5 separate regions of the Homo sapiens genome follow, and all the other regions are linked to region 4. The links are contacts of gene promoters, found by promoter capture Hi-C in blood cells and fetal thymus (Javierre and others, 2016). All regions are on one chromosome and are shown on one strand. The core of a region is centred on a gene start or on the middle of the fragment in contact, and the rest is flanking DNA. Distances in the headings are between cores, read along the strand shown. Region 1 overlaps VIL1 (villin 1). Region 2 overlaps USP37 (ubiquitin specific peptidase 37). Region 3 overlaps USP37 (ubiquitin specific peptidase 37). Region 4 holds the start of TMBIM1 (transmembrane BAX inhibitor motif containing 1). Region 5 overlaps VIL1 (villin 1).

Region 1 (3,374 bases), core at 706-3,205, 130 kb before region 4:
CCGGCCTGCAGCCCACCCTCCCTACACAAGGCCTTGCTTGAAGTAGCCTCGGAAGGCCTCGCTCTCGTTGCCCTGGACCTCGCGGTGCTGCACAGCCCGGCCCTTCAGGAAGTCATCCATCTGTGTGGTGTAGATGGCAGCTGCCCCCTGCTCATCCAGGGATGAGTCCTGGCCAATCCAGTAGTGGATGTCATAGGACAGGCTGCTGGCTGTCTTGTGGATCTAGGGAAAAGGTGTCCAGTGTACCCGAGACCCTGGGCTCCCACAGCCCCTCCAGCTCTGTGTGACCTCCCACACACGTGCCGTCCAGGACTATGGGGGAGCGTGGCACAGGGCAAGTGCACTAGGCTGGCGGTTAGGAGCCCTGAGTCATGGCCCAGCTCTACCATTGACTCTCTGAGACATGGCTTCTCCTCTCTGGGCCTCCCTTGCCTCATCTCAGAAATAACTTGCTTGTGCCAGGCACAGTGGCTCACGCCTGTAATCCCAGCACTTTGGGAGGTCGAGGCAAGTGGATCACCTGAGGTCAGGAGTTGAAGACCAGCCTGGCCAACATGGCAAAACCCTGTCTTTACTAAAAATACAAAAATTAGCCAGGTGTGGGGGCAGATGCCTGTAATCCCAGCTACTCAGGAGGCTGAGCCACGAGAATCGCTTGAATCCAGGAGGCAGAGTTTGCAGTGAGCCAAGATTGTGCCATTGCACTCCAGCCTGGGCGACAGAGCGAGACTCTGTCTCAAAAAATAATAATAATAAATACATAAAATAAAATAAAAATTTAAAATGAGTCAATATAAAGAAAAAAATACAAATGTCTTAATAGTACAGGTGGTACCAGGGTATGGTGAAAATCAAGGTGATATGAAGATGACTGCCAGGCTGGGCATGGTGGCTCATGCCTGTAATCCCAGCATTTTGGGAGGCTGAGGCGAGTGGATCACCTGAGGTCAAGAGTTCGAAACCAGCCTGATCAACATGGTGAAACCCCGTTTCTACTAAAAAATACAAAAAAATTAGCTGACTGTGGTGGCACGTGCCTGTAGTCCAAGCTACTCAAGAGGCTGAGGCAGGAGAATCGCTTGAACCCGGGAAGTGGAGGTTGCAGTGAGCCGAGGTCGCTCCACTGCACTCCAGCCTGGGTGACAGAGTGAGACTCCATCCGGAAAAAAATTTTAAAAAAAGAAGATGACTATGGATTGTGGAAATGTGGACTCAAGTTAGGGTGATACGGCAACAACTCAGAAGTTTCCCCAAGACTGTGAATCCACAGAAGTTGACCTCAGCTGGGAGCTCAGTGGATCAAGGGCAGCAAGAGCCTCTGACCTCTGTGAAGCCCCCACAGGGTTGGGCACTTGGGCATACCCAGTAAATTGTGTCTTGGGGTGAAGCCAGGCCAACTCTCCCCACGGCCCCCAGCCTGTTTCCTCCCTGACACCACAGTGGGTTTTGCTCTCTGCTCAGCCCCCTCCCCTGCCCCTGACTCACAGCCAGGATGATGTAGCAGTCACCATCGAAGAAGCTTCCAAAGGTGCTGGAAGGAACAGGCACCATCTGCATGGCCTAAGGAGAGAAAGAGGGTCAGAGGGGCTGCCCTGGACCACCAGGACCCCTAGGCCTGGGAGGAGGGCCCAAGGGGAGGAGGCGTCGGAGACAAAGAGCCGGGCCCAGGAATGAAAGGAGAGAAAAGGAAGAGAGGAGAAGAAAACTGTGAGGGGCGGGAGAAGGAAAATCAATGGAGGGAAAGGAAGGGATGAGTGAGGAAGAGGAAGTGGAGAGGAAGGTTGAGAGACAGAGGGAGAAGAAATGGAGAAAGGGAAAGGGAGACCAGCCGGGGTGTGGATGATGCGGGAGGTGAGGGGCTGAGCTCTCAGGGGCTTCAGGGCAGGAGCAGAGGAAACGAAGAGAAATCCCAGGCCTCCCTCCTTGGCCTTGCCTCCCTCCACCCCAGGCCTGAGCAGCCCCCATGCCCAGACAGGGCCTCACCTCGATCCTCCATATCTGCAGCCCCGGGGTGGTGATGTTGAGAGAGCCTTTGACTTGGGCGCTCAGCTTGGTCATGGTGAGTGAGCCTGGGGGAGAAGGCGTTGGGAGCAGGGGCACCCTGAGTTCGGATGCTGCCCTTCCAGCCTGCCCCTAGAGAACTCCCAACAGTGCCAGGAGGTCGCAGGCTCAGGGGCTTGGGGGAGCACAGAGGGTTACTCCCCACTCAGGGACCATTTCCGCTTGTTTAGTACCAAATCCGCAGTGTCTAGCACAGTGACTTTGCTCAATAAGGAAGAGAGGGGGAGGGAAGGAGTGAGAGATGGATGAATGAATGAACAGAGTGAACCCTCCCACTGTGAACTACTCTCTGCCCGCTAAACTGGAAGGAACCCCCCTCCCCAAGCTTTTCTCCTCATGTCAGCCCTTTCTCCATATTATTTTTTTCTTCTTCTTCTTTTTGAGATGGAGTCCCGCTCTGTCGCACAGGCTGGAGTGCAGTGTCGTGATCTTGGCTCACTGCAACCTCTGCCTCCCAGGTTCAAGTGATTCTCCTACCTCAACCTCCCGCATAGCTGGGATTACAGGCGTGAGCCACCACGCCTGGCTAATTTTGTATTTTTAGTAGAGACAGGGTTTCCCCATGTGGGCCAGGCTGGTCTCAAACTCCTGACCTCAGGTGATCCACCTGTCACAGCCTCCCAAAGTGCTGGGATTACAGGCATGAGCCACTGTGCCTGGCCGGCCCTTTTTGCTTGGACCTGTAGCTGTATTCGCTCCTGCTGCTCATCAGCCTCAGCTGGGGAGCTTCGGAACGTGCTGATGCTCCAGGCTCTGGTGATTCTGATTTAATTAGGCCAGGGTGGGGCTTGGGCATGGGTGCTTTATTTTCTGCCTTTTGGGAGGTGAGGCATGGGTGCTTTTAAAACTCCCCAGTGATTCTGATATGAACTAGGGCAGACAGCCACTAGTGCCCAGTTATTCTCCTCCCTAGTTTTGAGGTTCCTCCTCATCAGGCCAGAGGCCACCCCGATCTCCATGGAGCCTATCACCCAGCCTGGCAGAGAGCTGCCCTCCATGAATGCTCCTTGAACTGATGAATAATGAATGAGAGGGCATGTGGCCGACAGGTCAGGCCTCCACTCGCTGACAGCCTGAAATCTCACTATCTAATCTCTCCTTGCACCTTGACTTTGAGTCACCTCTTAGTGACTTGGCCTTTTAGTACTTAGAAACTCCCTTTTCTGAGCCCTGAGGGGTGGCTGCTGCTTCCCTGGCGTTCTAGAGTTGGAGGTAAGGCCCTGCCCAGTCTCTGATCATTGCCTGCTCCGACTGATTAGCAGCAGCTTGCCGTGTAACTGTAGGAGCCCCTTGGGCTTGGGTCCTGTCTGATG
Region 2 (3,333 bases), core at 533-3,032, 190 kb before region 4:
CGACAGAACGAGACTCCGTCTCAAAAAAAAAAAGTAGTTTGTTATTTGTAAACAAATATTAAAGTATTTGAAGTAACATATTCTAAAATTTGGTAACATGAAATTAAAACTGTAGATATCACGTAAGTTGGTATCCTAAGATCTGCAGAATAAGAAAATATTCTTTGCTCTTTCTTAGGTTGTACGTACCCTATTAGAAACAGGAAGAAAGAATCATGTTTATCCAAAGCTGTAGATACATATTTGTGTCTGTGATATACCGTTACAGATATTGAGAAAGTTTCTGGGGCATAATCAGACTGTTGTTATAGCAGTCCTTATAAACTAGTGGAAATTTGCAAGAATCGATTCCCCCTTGATCTGTCTAGTAGCGGTCCTTGTTGTGTTGTAGCAAATTGGCAGGATTGTCTTCCTAAGGTATAAAAAATAAAAATAAGGCCGGGCACGGTGGCTAACGCCTGTAATCCCAGCACTTTGGGAGGCTGAGGTGGGAGGATCACGAGGTCAGGAGATCGAGACCATCCTGGCTAACACGGTGAAACCCTGTCTCTACTAGAAATACAAAAAAATTAGCTGGGCGTGGTGGCGGGCGCCTGTAGTCCCAGCTACTCGGGAGGCTGAGGCAGGAGAATGGCGTGAACCTGGGAGGTGGAGCTTGAAGTGAGCCGAGATCGCGCCACTGCACTCCAGCCTGGGCGACAGAGCAAGACTCTGTCTCAAAAAAATAAAAAAAATAAAAAATCTGGCTGGGTGTGGTGGCTCCCACCTGTAATCCCAAGGTGAGGCCAAGGGAGGCCAATCACCTGAAGTCAGGAGTTCAATACCAGCCTGGCCAACACGGCAAAACCCTGCTTCTACTAAAAATGCAAAAGTTGGCCAGGTATGGTGGCACATGCCTGTAGTCCCAGCTACTTGGCAAGCTGAGGCACGAGAATCACTTGAACCCTGGAGGTGGAGGTTGCAGTGAGCTGAGATCACGCCCCTCCCTCCCACCCAGTTGCCTGGGTGACAGAGCAAGGCTCTGTGTCAAAACAAACAGACAAAAAAATCTGTTTATTAAATGGTGAACGTTGAGCTCTACCCAAAGATAAATACTCTGCTTTTCTTTTAGTCATTTTTAAACTATTCTTGTTATTATCATAGACTTTGAAGATTTTCCTATGTATTTTTACCCCCATTTTTTAAGGATTTCTTGTTTCAGTGTTCTCTAGGTAATGGTATTCACCCCAACTTTTCATCCTTTTAAAGCAGTTGTTCTTAGTGGGCTGTCACGAGAAGATTGAGTTCCATTATGCGAAAGGGGTAGCGTTACACCTAACAGACAAGAAATTCTACCTAACCTAAAGGTGATCTTATCTCTGCTATGGCCATATGGTAAAATCTGGATATACTCTTGGTAGTGGTTCATATGTGTCCATGGGGAAAAGGCTGAAAAGGCTAAGAATCTTCTATTTTAGAGTCTAGTTACTATCATAAATTTAGATATATTCTTGGTGAAAAAGGAAATTAGAAGTTCTGAAATGGGGCATGATATTATAGGTATATTTTGAGGATTGGGTCTTAATTTGGTAAGGCTCATGGCTCTAGACACAGAATTTTTAAAACTGGTTCAGAGTTGTCATTCCACTAATGGAACTAATAAGACTAGAGCAAATTATTTGCATTTAAGATACTAATGCTGATTCACCTTCATGCTTTATTTTTCCTTCTTTTTATAGGCCGAAGAACTGGAGTATTCTTGTGAGAAGTGTGGTGGGAAGTGTGCTCTTGTCAGGCACAAATTTAACAGGCTTCCTAGGTAATTTTTTTTTTTTTTTTTTTTTTTTGCTATGGACTAAAGAATTCCCAGGTACATTTAATTGCTTTTCAATTTTTCTTTTTAAAGTTCATACAAATATTACTGAATAAATGAAGGTTACCAGAATGGATTGGTAAAGAGGGTCAGGAAAGCTGAAATGTGCAGAGTGTAAGAGGGCAGAGAGCTAGAATGCTTTTGCATAAGAAAGGTGACCAGGTGTGATAGCTCACGCCTGTAATCCTAGCACTTTGGGAGGCTGAGGTAGGAGGATCACTTGAGTCCAGGAGTTCAAGACCAGCCTGGGTAACGTAGGGAAACCCCATCTCTACAAAAGAAAGAAATATATATTTAAAGGAAGGAAGGAAAAGCGTTTGAAATATTGAAGAGAAAAAGGGTCTTGAGAGTTCCAAGAAAATGGCAACAGAGGATACAGCTGCTGAGACTTTGGAATAATTATAAGAACTAGCTAGTCAATTTTTAATTCAGTAATGTGTAATATTCAGTTATATTTTGTTGCCCTGTGTTGTGCTGTAGTCTTTTTCTGTTATCCCATACTTTCAGTAAAAACCTGCTATAGACACATACACACATGTATATAAGAATAAAACAGGGAGTAATTTTTTGCAGTTTGTGCGTTCCTTCATTCTAAGGATCTTATAAATTAGTAAATTTCCTGTAATCATAAGATAAATTTTCTGATATAGGAATGAAATTAACTTATATTGTATCTGCTCTGTATAAACATAAAACTGAAGTAGTTACAAAAAATTATTATGTGGTTACAGGACAGCTTTTAGTTCTTTCCAAGAATAGATCGCAAACACCAAGGTTGTTATTAACATTAAGTATTTATGTAGCACTTTGCCTACAGAGTGCTTTACTTTCTTTTATTAGCTTCAATATTCTGTCAGTAAGTGTGGAATTTCTGGAACCTAGCCCCTAGAGACTAGTTCTTTTACATTTCATAATCTACTCCTTTCTAGAAAATGGGAGTTGGTTTTTTTTTTTGGTTGTTTGTTGTTGTTGTTGTTGTTGTTGTTTTGATACAGAGTCTTGCTCTGTCCCCCAGGCTAGAGTGCAGTGGCACGATCTCAGCTCACCGCAACCTCTGCCTCACGGGTTCAAGCGATTCTCCTGCCTCAGCCTCCCGAGTAGCTGGGATTACAGCTGTATGCCACCACACCTGGCTAATTTTTGTATTTTTAGTAGAGACGGGGTTTTGCCATGTTGACCAGGTTGGTCTTGAACTCCTGACCTCAGGTGATCCACCTGCCTTGGCCTCCCAAAGTGCTGGGATTATAGGCATAAGCCACCGCGCCGGGCCAAGGAAGTTGGTTTTAAAGAAATGACTTTATAAAGGCTGGGTGTGGTGGTTCACGCCTGTAATCTCAACATTTTGAGAAGCCAAGGTGGAAGGTTTGCTTGAGACCAAGAGTTCAAGACCAGCCTGGGCAACATGGTGAGACCCCCATCTCTACAAAAAATGTTGTGTTTTTTGTTTTTTTCAAACAGAGTCTCGTTCTGTTGCCCAGGCT
Region 3 (3,441 bases), core at 702-3,201, 240 kb before region 4:
TCCCCTCACAACTGTCTTTCAAGGCAGTCCCTAGTGGGACTATAGTGCAACAGTAGTTTATTTGCAGTTTGTACCAATGTACCAAGATGACCTATCCATTAATCAGGCCCAGGTTTATTCCTCGTTTCAGCTTGATGTAGGAAATGCCCCTAACGCTTGTTCTTGTCATCTCTTTCTTACTTGGGCCCAATTCCAATATACCTGCTTCCATTTTATGATGAATTGCTGTTGTACTCTCCTGGTCTTATCACTTCATGGGTGTGATAGCACTTAGCTCCTGATGGTTAGCTCTGGTTGCACAGTCCCTTGATGACCATCAGTCAGATGCTCTGTCTCTTCCAGGGCTTAATAATATGCCAAGAGTAGTATGCCATACTTTACAGATGAGGTATAATTTTTGGCTGCAGACAGCATGGTCTTGCTTTACAAGGTCTGGGCTGCAACTCTCCTGTGGGTGACTCTACACATTGTCTTTGTCCTTTAAGTTGGTAATTGGCTCAACTGAGCCTGTCTTCTCTCTTGAACACATAAATACTCAGCATCAACCAGTCAATTCCATAGTCTTTTTGATGATTATTTACCTGATATCACCTACATCTTATCTGTTGCTGTATCCAAACCACTCCAAAATTTAGTGACTTGAAATAGTAACTATTCATTTTTGCTTATGAATTTATGGTCACCTGGGTGGTTCTGTTTATCTGGGCCCAGTTTGGCTCATAGTACCTGGATTCTAATTTTGTTACGCCTCTGTAGTCAGTAGATGGTTTGGCTAGAGTTTGACTGGTCTAGGATGGCCTCACTCATATAACTGGCCATTGAGTGGTGGGCGTGATTGGGCCATGTGTCTTCCACTGTTAACAGGCTAGCCTGGGATTATTCACATAGCAGTGGCAGGGTTCCAAGAGAGTGAGTGGAAACCTGCAGGGCACCTTTAGACTTAGGGTCAGAACTCACACACTGTTAACTTCTGTCACATTGTTTTGGGAAAAGGAAATCACAGGACTAGCCCCATTAAGGGATGAAGAAATAGACTGAATTTATTGATTAGAAGCTTGAATATAGGGAGTGAAATAATTTGCGACATTTTAAAAACAACTTTATTAAGCTACAATTTACATACCATGTAATTGACCCATTTTAAGGGTATATAAGTCAATGATTTTTAGTAAATTTTTTTAGTTATATTACGTCATCATTATCTAGTTTCAGAACATTTCCATTACCCCAATACGATCTATTGTGTAATCATTCTACCACATTTCTAAAATACTGGAGATACTGCGTGAGCCCTATCCTTCTCTACCTTATTTCATCCTAATTCACCATAGGTGAAAATCTTAGCAATTGTAACACTATAAGATGTCAGAGGTATTACTATCAGCAACAGAATTTCTGTTGCCATTGCCAAACAAGGGTCCAATTCCAGAATCCTATCCTTAGAGTGTGCTTCCTAGGCCCACTTTTAGTACCAGCTGTTGTAGATTATGTTCCCCAGAAGCAGAATCTGAAATGGAGATTAGTGTGCATGTGAATTACTAAGGAAGTACTCCCAGAGAAGATAGTGAAGGGAGTAAGGAAAGCAATATAGTTAAGGGCAGGAAACAAAGCATGGATGTGATCCTGGAGAAGTCACACAAGGACATGAAGGTTAGTCTTCATCCTGATATTACAGAAATCTGTTATGTAGCTTCCACCATAAAGTTGTTTTAATCCAAATCAGGAGAGCTGGGCTTCTCTACTGTAGCGCCCGGCCTTGTTTGTGACTCTGAGATTACAGGCAAAGTATCTCTAGTAACTTGAGGGCAGTCCTGTGAAGAAGAGCCCTTGGTACTGGCTATCAAAAACATAAGTTGGTGTGAAGATATGGAAGAGAGAATATAAAAATGAGTCAGTGGGAATCTAGGTGGGGCACACTTAGGCATTGTCTGCCACAGGCTTAGTTCATGATGGTTCCCCTTAAATTAGCACTGTTAAAGCATGAACATTTATTTGAATGGACACTCTCTACTTATATGGGTTGAGGTATTTGAAAATAATACAGGGGAGAAAAGGGCTTTTAAAAGAAATTTTAACTTTGTATTCATGATCCTAAAGAATTTTAATCAATATAAATTAAAATGCTGTTGCTGCTTAGCAAATAGTATTGCTATTCATGTGGAATACACAGTTTTGATTTTGATTTTTCTTTTCCTTTTTTTTTTTTTTTTTTTTTTTTTGAGATGAAGTCTCGCTCTTGTCACCCATTCTGGAGTGCAATGGCGTGATCCCTGGCTCACTGCAACCTCTGCCTCTGGGTTCAAGCAATACTTCTGCCTCAGCCTCCTGAATAGCTGGGATCACAGACGCCTGCCACCACGCCTGGCTAATTTTTTTTTTTTTGAGACAGAGTCTCGCTCTGTCACCCAGGCTGGAGTGCAGTGGCGCGATCTTGGCTCACTGCAAGCTCCGCCTCCCGGGTTCACGCCATTCTCCCACCTCAGCCTCCTGCGTAGATGGGACTACAGGTGCCCGCCACCACGCCCAGCTAATTATTGTATTTTTAGTAGAGACAGGGTTTCACTGTGTTAACCAGGATGGTCTTGATCTCCTGACCTCATGATTCACCTGCCTCGGCCTCCCAAAGTGCTGGGATTACAGGTGTGAGCCACTGCATCCAGCCCACTCCCAGCTAATTTTTGTATTTTTAATAGAGATGGGGTTTCCCACGTTGGCCAGGCTGGTCTCGAACTCCCAACCTCAGGTGATCCGCCCGCCTCGCCCTCCCAAGCTGCTAGGATTAAGGCTTGAGCCACCGCGCCCAGCCTGATTTGTTTTTCTTTGTAAACCTATAAACTGCCAAGCTTGAACATTGTACTTTTTTTTTTTTTTAAGACTAAGACTCACTCTGTTGCCCAAGCTGGAGTGCAGTGGCGCGATCACGGCTCACTGCAACCTCCACCTCCCAGGTTCAAGTGATTCTCCTGCCTCACAGCCTCCCGAGTAGCTGGGACTACAGGAACGCGCCACCATGCTTGGCTAATTTTTGTATTTTTAGTTGAGACGGGGTTTCACTATGTTGGCCAGGCTGGTCTCGAACTCCTGACCTCGCGATCTGCCCGCCTCAGCCTCCCAAAGTGCTGGGATTACAGGAGTGAGCCACCGCGCCTGGCCACAGTTTACTTTTTAATTGATTCTTTTGGTCTTAGTAGCTGAATCATTTTATCTGGTCTTGCTTTTGGCCAAGAAAATCTAATAATCTTGCTGTCTCTGATTTGACTTTTATATAAAGAAAAATGCTCCTTTACTTTTGCTAAGTTATCAGAGTCATGGATTGGATTGGCTCTTGAGATAGTAATTAAAGATTATTTTTGTAATTTTCATTTGTTTAAGTCATTGACCTTTTGAGACTAACAATCTTGTAGCTTAATTTTCAAGCATATCAATGAATTTGGCACTTTA
Region 4 (3,559 bases), core at 7-2,506:
CAAACAAAATTAGCTGGGTGTAGTGGCACACACTTGTAATCCCAGCTACTCAGGAGGCTGAGGCCGGAGAATCACTTGAAACCAGGAGGAGGATGCAGTGAGCCGAGATGGCGCCACTGCACTCCAGCCTGGGTGACAGAGCGAGACCCTGTCTGGAAAAAAAAAAAAAAAAAAAAAAGGACATTCAGTGGTGGTGTGGTGCTGACCTATAGCTATTAACATGAGATAAGCACTTTAAACAGAGTTGGTCAACTACTGGCAGCCTTGGTGTCATGGAAAGAACTTGGACTTTGGAACCACAGAAACTCAGGCAAGGCTCGGTAATGTTTCTCTTTTTAAATTGAGACAAGGTCTCTCTATGTTGCCTAGGCTGGGTCTCCAACTCCTGGGCTCAAGCCATCCTCTGGCCTTGGCCTCCCAAAAGTGCTAGGATCGCAGGTGTGAGTCACCATGCCCAGGCTCCAGTAATATTTCAGAACTTCCTCAAAACTGTTTCCTCCTTTGCTACTGCATTCTTCACTGAGATGAGGGTTAAGACCTACCTAACAGTAGTAATCTACATCTCAATGTAGGACTTCTGAATTCTGACTTGAGGAAAGCACCTGCTTTCCTGGTTGAGTAATTATAAACAGAGATTCTAGGTTTGCATGTTTGCAGTTTTAAACTCGAAAAGTGCATTTATCTCAAAAACACAGAATTATCAAGGATTTTAATTACTGATTTATTTGTAATGTAAAAATGGGAAACAAACGGCCTCCAGTAGGAAATTAATTTAATCCGCATAGCCATGCAATGGAATACTTCACGGCATTAAGATTGTGCTTTTGAAGACTATTTAGTGAGAAGAAAAATGTTCATCATAAAACAGTAAAAAGAAGGGCAGTAAACAAAACACCATACAATATACCCCACTGTAGAAAAACAAAATACATACAGAAATGTAATAGCCAAAGAAGGACCCAAAGCGAACGCTTCCCCCTGGGAACTAGGAGGGGTGGAGAGAAATTACTTTCTTCCCTGCATTTCTGTGTCTTTTCTAGCTTCCTATCAGTATCATGTATTGCCTTTAAATCCGAAAATACCCCTGTGTTATTAGTGAGGCGTCGTCGGGGCTCTGAGAGGCGCGCGCGCCCGGGACAGACCCCTGCGCCCCCTGGCGGCGCCCTGAGGCCCCGCCCCACGAGGCCGGCGCGACGGGGCGGGGCGCGGAGCCCCAGCCGAGCCTAGCCCTGCCCGGCCCCGGAGGACTTGCAACACTCCGAGGCCAGGAACGCTCCGTCTGGAACGGCGCAGGCAAGCCAGGGGGCCGGGGCCGGCGCCGTTGGGGACTGTGGGCGGTGGGGACTGGTCCAGGGCTGGGGCGGCCATGCGCCGGGGCGCCTAAACTTTTCGGAGCGCGCTCCCGGCTTGCCCGCTCCTGGGCCCAAGGAGCCCGTTCCAGATGGGGATCTCCCCTCCTGGCCCTTGGCGTTTCGCTCTCCCTGGGCGCGCGGGTGGGCGGCCGGGTCTGTGGCACCTGGTTAGCCTTGGGAGCCCAGCAGCGTGTTGTGGGCACTGGTGAGCGGAGCCAGGGTCTGGGGGTGTCCTCGTGTTCCCTCTTTCGGGCACGAGTGGCCTCTCTGTCGCAGGGCCTATCCACCATGCCAGCCCGAGTGGCCAGCTGTGTGGGATGAGGGCTTTCATGGCCCTCAGCTGGTGAGAAGAGGGAAGAGGGAGGGGAGACAGCCAGGGCCTGGCACGGACCCCAGGTTGCCCCCACACGCGCTGAGGCCAGTCTCGGTGTAGACAGGTGAATATTTAAGGGGTGGGGAAGGGGGGGTCCTAGCTTGCAGCTGGGGCAGAAGCCAATGAGCAGCTCAAGTGTTTGGCATGGGGAAGTGGCCACCTCTATCACCATGACTTTGCCCTCTGCCAGTCCCACTTCCAGCCACTGTTTCCCGGCTGGGTTCACAGAACTACAGGGGAGTAACATCCTCCTCGTGACTTCTTTGGGTTAGAGTGAAAACAAAACAGAGAAACGGGAAAAGGGAAAGCAAGTGGAGAGACTGGGGCAGGAGCCAGGGACCAGTGGGAGGAAGCAGAGGGAGGCTGCTGGGAGGCCAGGCCCTGGCCTTGTGGGGTCGGCACCAATTCTTGTCCTATGGGGTCTCCATCTCCTCTCCCTCCTCTGTGGCCTCTACGTGGTACCCAGGAGTTTGGGGTTCTACCTGAGCACCCTGGACATGGGATAAGTAGGCCTGGGAACGCAGGTCAGAGCCAGATGTCATGGAAGGGCCCTCAGGTGTCCAGTTCTCTGGGCTCTGAAATATTCATCTCATTAGTGAGCTTTGGTTTCCAAGCTGGCGACTTTGGGCTGGCCAGTGGTGGCAGGGGAGCCAGGTGCCTCCTGGGGCTGCTTTATTGGCGCAAAGGGGGAGCCATACTTCCTTCTCACCTGCCTCCTCTCTCTGTCTCTCCAGTCATGAGGATCCAGAGAACCAGTTTATAGCTTAAATGGAAGAGGCAGGACCACAGTGTCAGGGGCCCTGTCTTTCTGTGCTATGACCTCAAGGCCTCACTTGTAAAAATGAGCCCTTCAGAGAGGTAATGATGGGTTATCCTGTAAGTGTTGGGAGAGCCTCATGTCATGAGCTGGGGTAATAGCCACCTGGGCTCAGCCTCCTCCCCTGGGAATGGGTGCCTCAGCCAGACGCTGTCTACCTCAGAGCACCTCCAACCGCAGGCCTCACCCTGGGCCTTTCAGAAAAAGCAGAAGCCACAGAGAAGGGAAACACACATACTTGTGTGTTTTCAGAGGGCTGAACTGGGACGACCAGAGAGTGGAAGCTCATACAATTCTCTGGGAAGAAGTTCTGCTAACAACATGTCTGATCATGACATGGGCCTTCTGGACCTATTCTGTTGGGGACACAGTGGAAGGGATGACCTTGACAGAATCTTCCAACCCTAAGATTCTGGGATTCTAGGCCAAAACCTGGGTCTTGTTTTGAAGTAGAAATGATATCCAGAAGTCGACAGGCTACAGTGGCAGGTACCTCCATTGGTGGGAAGGGAGATATTAATGAGCTCCCACTTTTGTCTGTAATGATTTGTGCTTTGCCCCGTTGCACAGAGGTGAGGTTAGGGGTGCCCGTTTCCTGGTTCTGTGGTAGCTGGATATGTCCCCCGGCCCTTGGCAGTAAATCCCACGGTGGGATAGCAGCTGTGTGGAATGGGGGAAGGGGAGGACCCTCGCCAGAGATCCTGGCACTGGGCTGACCCCCTGAGAGTGAGAGGGCATGTCTAGTACTTCATGTGACTGCTCTGAGGGGCAGCTGGGTGTACGCACAGAGGTTATAAGAGACGAGGAGTTAGGATATGAATGATTCTCAGGGTTGGGTGTCTGTAATACAAAGGTGGCCTGGGTCAGCATCCCACAGGGTGTTAATAGGTTTGCCTCGATAAAAGTGGCTCAGGCTTAAGGGAGTTTGAAGGAACACTGGGTTAAACAAAGCTGAACAGGGTTGCTTACTGCAGGACTTCTCAGGGGCAGAATATGCCATTGTGAATTTCCAAGAAG
Region 5 (3,373 bases), core at 291-2,790, 150 kb before region 4:
TTACCAGATGGACCATGTGCTGATGAGTCTTAAATTCATATCTCTGCCCTGGTGTTCCTCTGAATTGCTTGCCCACTGAACATGTATCTAAACCTCAAAGGACATAGCTACCACCAAACTCATGATTGTCTTCCCCTAAGCTCAGCCTGATCCAGTTTTCTATCTTGGAGAATGATGCTATTTTCTCTTCTCTCATACTCTTTATCCAGTAATTACCAAATATCATTGATTTTACCTCCTAAATGTTTCTCTCCACCTCCTCCACCATGACTTGTTCTAGGTTCCCACCTACCTGTCGGCCTGAGAGCAGCTGTGCTGTCTCTCCTAACTGGTGTTCCTATGGCTGCTCTTGCCACCTTCCAGGCTATTGTTCGATGAGAAGCTATAATTATTATTATTATTATCATTTTGAGATGGAGTTACACTCTTGTCGCCCAGGCTGGAGTGCAATGGTGAAATCTCGGCTCACTGCAACCTCCACCTCCTGGGTTCAAGTGATTCTCCTGCCTCAGCATCCCGAGTAGCTGGGATTATAGGCACAAGCCACCATGCCCGGCTATTTTTGTAATTTTAGTAGAGATGGGGTTTCACCATGTTGGCCAGGCTGGTCTCGAACACCTGACCTCAGGTGATCCGCATTCCTCGGCCTCTCAAAGTGCTGGGATTACAGGCATGAGCCACCGTGCCAGGCCAATGTAAGTCTGTCACTCTGCTACTTCAACCATAATGATACTCCCCTTCACCACCAGGATACATGATACGATCCTTAACTTGGGGTAGAAGGCACTGCCAGTTCAGCCCTGCCTCCCTCCCTGGCTCTGCACACCACCACAGCCACTCTGGCCCTCTTGCAGTTTTGCCCCCATTTTTATTCCTTGCCTTTGGGCTTCATGTTAGCTGTCCCTTCTCCAGAACTAACTTACTTTGCCTCAATAATTCCTATTTGTCTTTCAGAAAGAAATCTCTAAATCAGGCTCCTCTTTGTAATACCTTTTTTTTTTTTCTTTTTTTGAGACAGTCTCACTCTGTCACCCAGGGTGGAGTGCAGTGGCATGATCTTGACTCACTGCAACCTCCACCTCCCGGGTTCAAGCAATTCTCATGGCTCAGCCTCCCGAGTAGCTGGGATTACAGGCATACACCACCACACCTGGCTAATTTTTGTAGTTTTAGTAGAGATGGGGTTTCCCCATATTGGTCAGGCTGGTCTCAAACTCCTGACCTCAGGTGATCCACCCACCTCGGCCTCCCAAAGTGCTGGGATTACAGGCATGAGCCACTGCACCCGGCCCTGTTTGTAATACTCTTCACAGCTCCTGTACTTCACCTTTCTGGCACTTAACCCTGAAATTAAATAATAGTGTAACCAGGCTTCTCTGATCTCTCTCCTCCTGGGATATAAGGTGGCATGAAGGCAGGATCCCATCTGTCTTGTTCATCCCCAGCACCTAGTCACCTGCAGGGCCAAATCTGGGAGTCAACTATGGTGGTCCAACAAATGGACTTCTTTGTCTTCCTTTGAGAATCTGACCTACCTCCTTCCTGCTGGGGTCCACACCCTCGGGGAGCTCCTCTACAGGCTTGTTCACTAGCTGCTCCAGGGGGAAGATGGGCAGAGGCCCAGAACTGAGGTTGCTGTTAGCATTGAACACGTCCACTTTGGGGCTTGTGACCTCCTAGGAAAGAAAAGGAAACCACTGGTTACTTTAGCTGGTGCACAGCTACCTCCCAGGCTGCCTTTCTCTCTGAAGTCTCTAGGGCACCACCTTCAAGAAGCCTCCCATGTCCCACCCCACCCTGCCACACACACACTCATAAGAACAACATAGGCTGGGTGCAGTGGCTCACGCCTGTAATCCCAGCACTTTGGGAGGCTGAGGTGGGTGGATCACTTGAGGTCAGGAGTTCAAGACCAGCCTGTCTAACATGGTGAAACCGCATCTCTACTAAAAATACAAAACTTAGCCAGGTGTGGTGTCAGGCGCCTGTAATCCCATCTACTCAGGAGGCTGAGGTAGGAGAATCGTTTGAACCTGGGAGGTGGAGGTTGCAGTGAGCTGAGATTGCGCCACTGCACTTCAGCCTGGGCAACAGAGAGAGACTCCTCAAAACAACAACAACAACAACATAGAGCTTAGTGGTCTGTTCTGACCGAAGTCCATTGGTGGAAAATGACTCTTTTCTTTAACGATTCATTAACTTTCCCATGGCTTTCCCCAGAGTTGGAGATCTAGCCTGGATATTTATGACCCTGTCTCTCTTATCTGTTGTGAAATTGTCATCTATAAATTCACTTAACCTTGACCTATCTATACATGCCAGTCTGTACTGTCAGTCCACCAAGAAGGGTTTCATGAGTGCTGCAGGTTTTGACCATCTGTTGATTATACCCCAGTGTGCTTGTGAACTTGCTCTTGAATTCTGGACACATTCCTCAGAGTTAGCTCTGTCTTGTTCTCTCTATAAGCCTGTGAACTTCTCAAAGCAAAGGTTTTGATTTCATATTCCCGTGTCCCAGGCCTAAAGGCTAAATACATTTTTTTTCTTTTCTTTTTTCGGGTTTTTTTTTTTTTTTTTTTTTGAGACAGGGTCTGACTCTGTTGCCCAGGCTGGAGTGCAGTGGCACAATTTCAGCTAACTGCAACCTCTGCCTCCTGGGTTCAAACCAACCTCCCACCTCAGCCTCCTGAGTAGCTGGGACCACAAGCACGCACCACCACACCTGGCTGTTTTTTATTTTTTGTAAAGATGGGGTTTCCCCATGTTACGAAGACTAGTCTCAAACTCCTGGGCTCAAGCAATCCACCCACCTCGGCCTCCCAAAGTGCTGAGATTACAGGCGTGAGCCACTGTGCCCAGCCTAAATACACTTCTGTTAACTCACTGAAAGACCAAAGGAGTTGTAGTTATTCTACCTAGAGAAGGGATCCCAAAGGTGATGGAGTATAGAGACAGCATTATTTCTCAAAGTGTAGTCCATGGACTAACTACATGAAATTACCTTTTTAAAATAAGATTTAAAAGATGCAGATTCCTAGGTGCCAATTCTAAGTCTATAAACCAGAATATTTGGGAATGGGGCCTTGGAATCTGCATTTTAATATGCTTCCCCCTCACTCCCTGCCCCCATCTCCCCGACTTCTATGCATGATAAAATTTGAGAACCAGGCCAGGTGTGGTGGCTCATGCCTGCAATCCTAGCACTTTGGGAGGCCGAGGCTGGTGGATCACTTGAGGTCAGGAGTTTGAGACCAGACTGGCCAACATGGTGAAACCTCGTCTCTACTAAAAATACAAAAATTAGCCAGGCGTGGTGGCACACACCTGTAATCCCAGCTACTTGGGAGGTTGAGGCATGAGAATCACTTGAACC

The links. Contacts are between HindIII fragments. The CHiCAGO score rates a contact against its expected background, and 5 or more counts as called.
Region 1: a fragment that was not itself captured here is called in contact with the fragment with the promoter of TMBIM1 in region 4 in 2 of 17 cell types (monocytes and neutrophils); the score reaches 5.8 in monocytes.
Region 2: a contact is called between a fragment that was not itself captured here and the fragment with the promoter of TMBIM1 in region 4, in 4 of 17 cell types (neutrophils, naive B cells, monocytes and 1 more). The highest score is 7.0, in neutrophils.
Region 3: a contact is called between a fragment that was not itself captured here and the fragment with the promoter of TMBIM1 in region 4, in 1 of 17 cell types (naive CD4 T cells). The highest score is 6.4, in naive CD4 T cells.
Region 5: a fragment that was not itself captured here is called in contact with the fragment with the promoter of TMBIM1 in region 4 in 1 of 17 cell types (monocytes); the score reaches 6.6 in monocytes.

Annotation. Positions count from the first base shown.
Region 1 is chr2:218,422,463-218,425,836 of GRCh38, reverse strand. It overlaps VIL1 (villin 1), which reads right to left. Exons shown (of 20, transcript NM_007127.3): 2 at 1,984-2,069; 3 at 1,486-1,560; 4 at 26-222. The coding sequence starts at 2,058. Among named protein-coding and RNA genes, the nearest start is that of VIL1, 5.0 kb to the right of the region's middle. RefSeq lists a silencer at 1-48 and an enhancer at 931-1,431. The HindIII fragment of the contact is 867 bases long and covers 1,522-2,388 here.
Region 2 is chr2:218,484,129-218,487,461 of GRCh38, reverse strand. USP37 (ubiquitin specific peptidase 37) reads left to right here. Exons shown (of 26, transcript NM_020935.3): 16 at 1,719-1,798. Among named protein-coding and RNA genes, the nearest start is that of VIL1, 67 kb to the right of the region's middle. The HindIII fragment of the contact is 4,287 bases long and covers 1-3,333 here.
Region 3 is chr2:218,534,796-218,538,236 of GRCh38, reverse strand. The region is part of intron 8 of USP37 (ubiquitin specific peptidase 37); the gene reads left to right. Among named protein-coding and RNA genes, the nearest start is that of USP37, 32 kb to the left of the region's middle. The HindIII fragment of the contact is 1,789 bases long and covers 1,057-2,845 here.
Region 4 is chr2:218,290,200-218,293,758 of GRCh38, reverse strand. It overlaps TMBIM1 (transmembrane BAX inhibitor motif containing 1), which reads left to right and starts at 1,256. Exons shown (of 12, transcript NM_022152.6): 1 at 1,256-1,293. All of the region lies in intron 2 of PNKD (PNKD metallo-beta-lactamase domain containing), which reads right to left. RefSeq lists enhancers at 1-578, 761-1,723, 1,724-2,688 and a silencer at 999-1,478. The HindIII fragment of the contact is 24,107 bases long and covers 1-3,559 here.
Region 5 is chr2:218,439,025-218,442,397 of GRCh38, reverse strand. It overlaps VIL1 (villin 1), which reads right to left. Exons shown (of 20, transcript NM_007127.3): 19 at 1,536-1,676. Among named protein-coding and RNA genes, the nearest start is that of VIL1, 22 kb to the right of the region's middle. The HindIII fragment of the contact is 5,722 bases long and covers 1-3,373 here.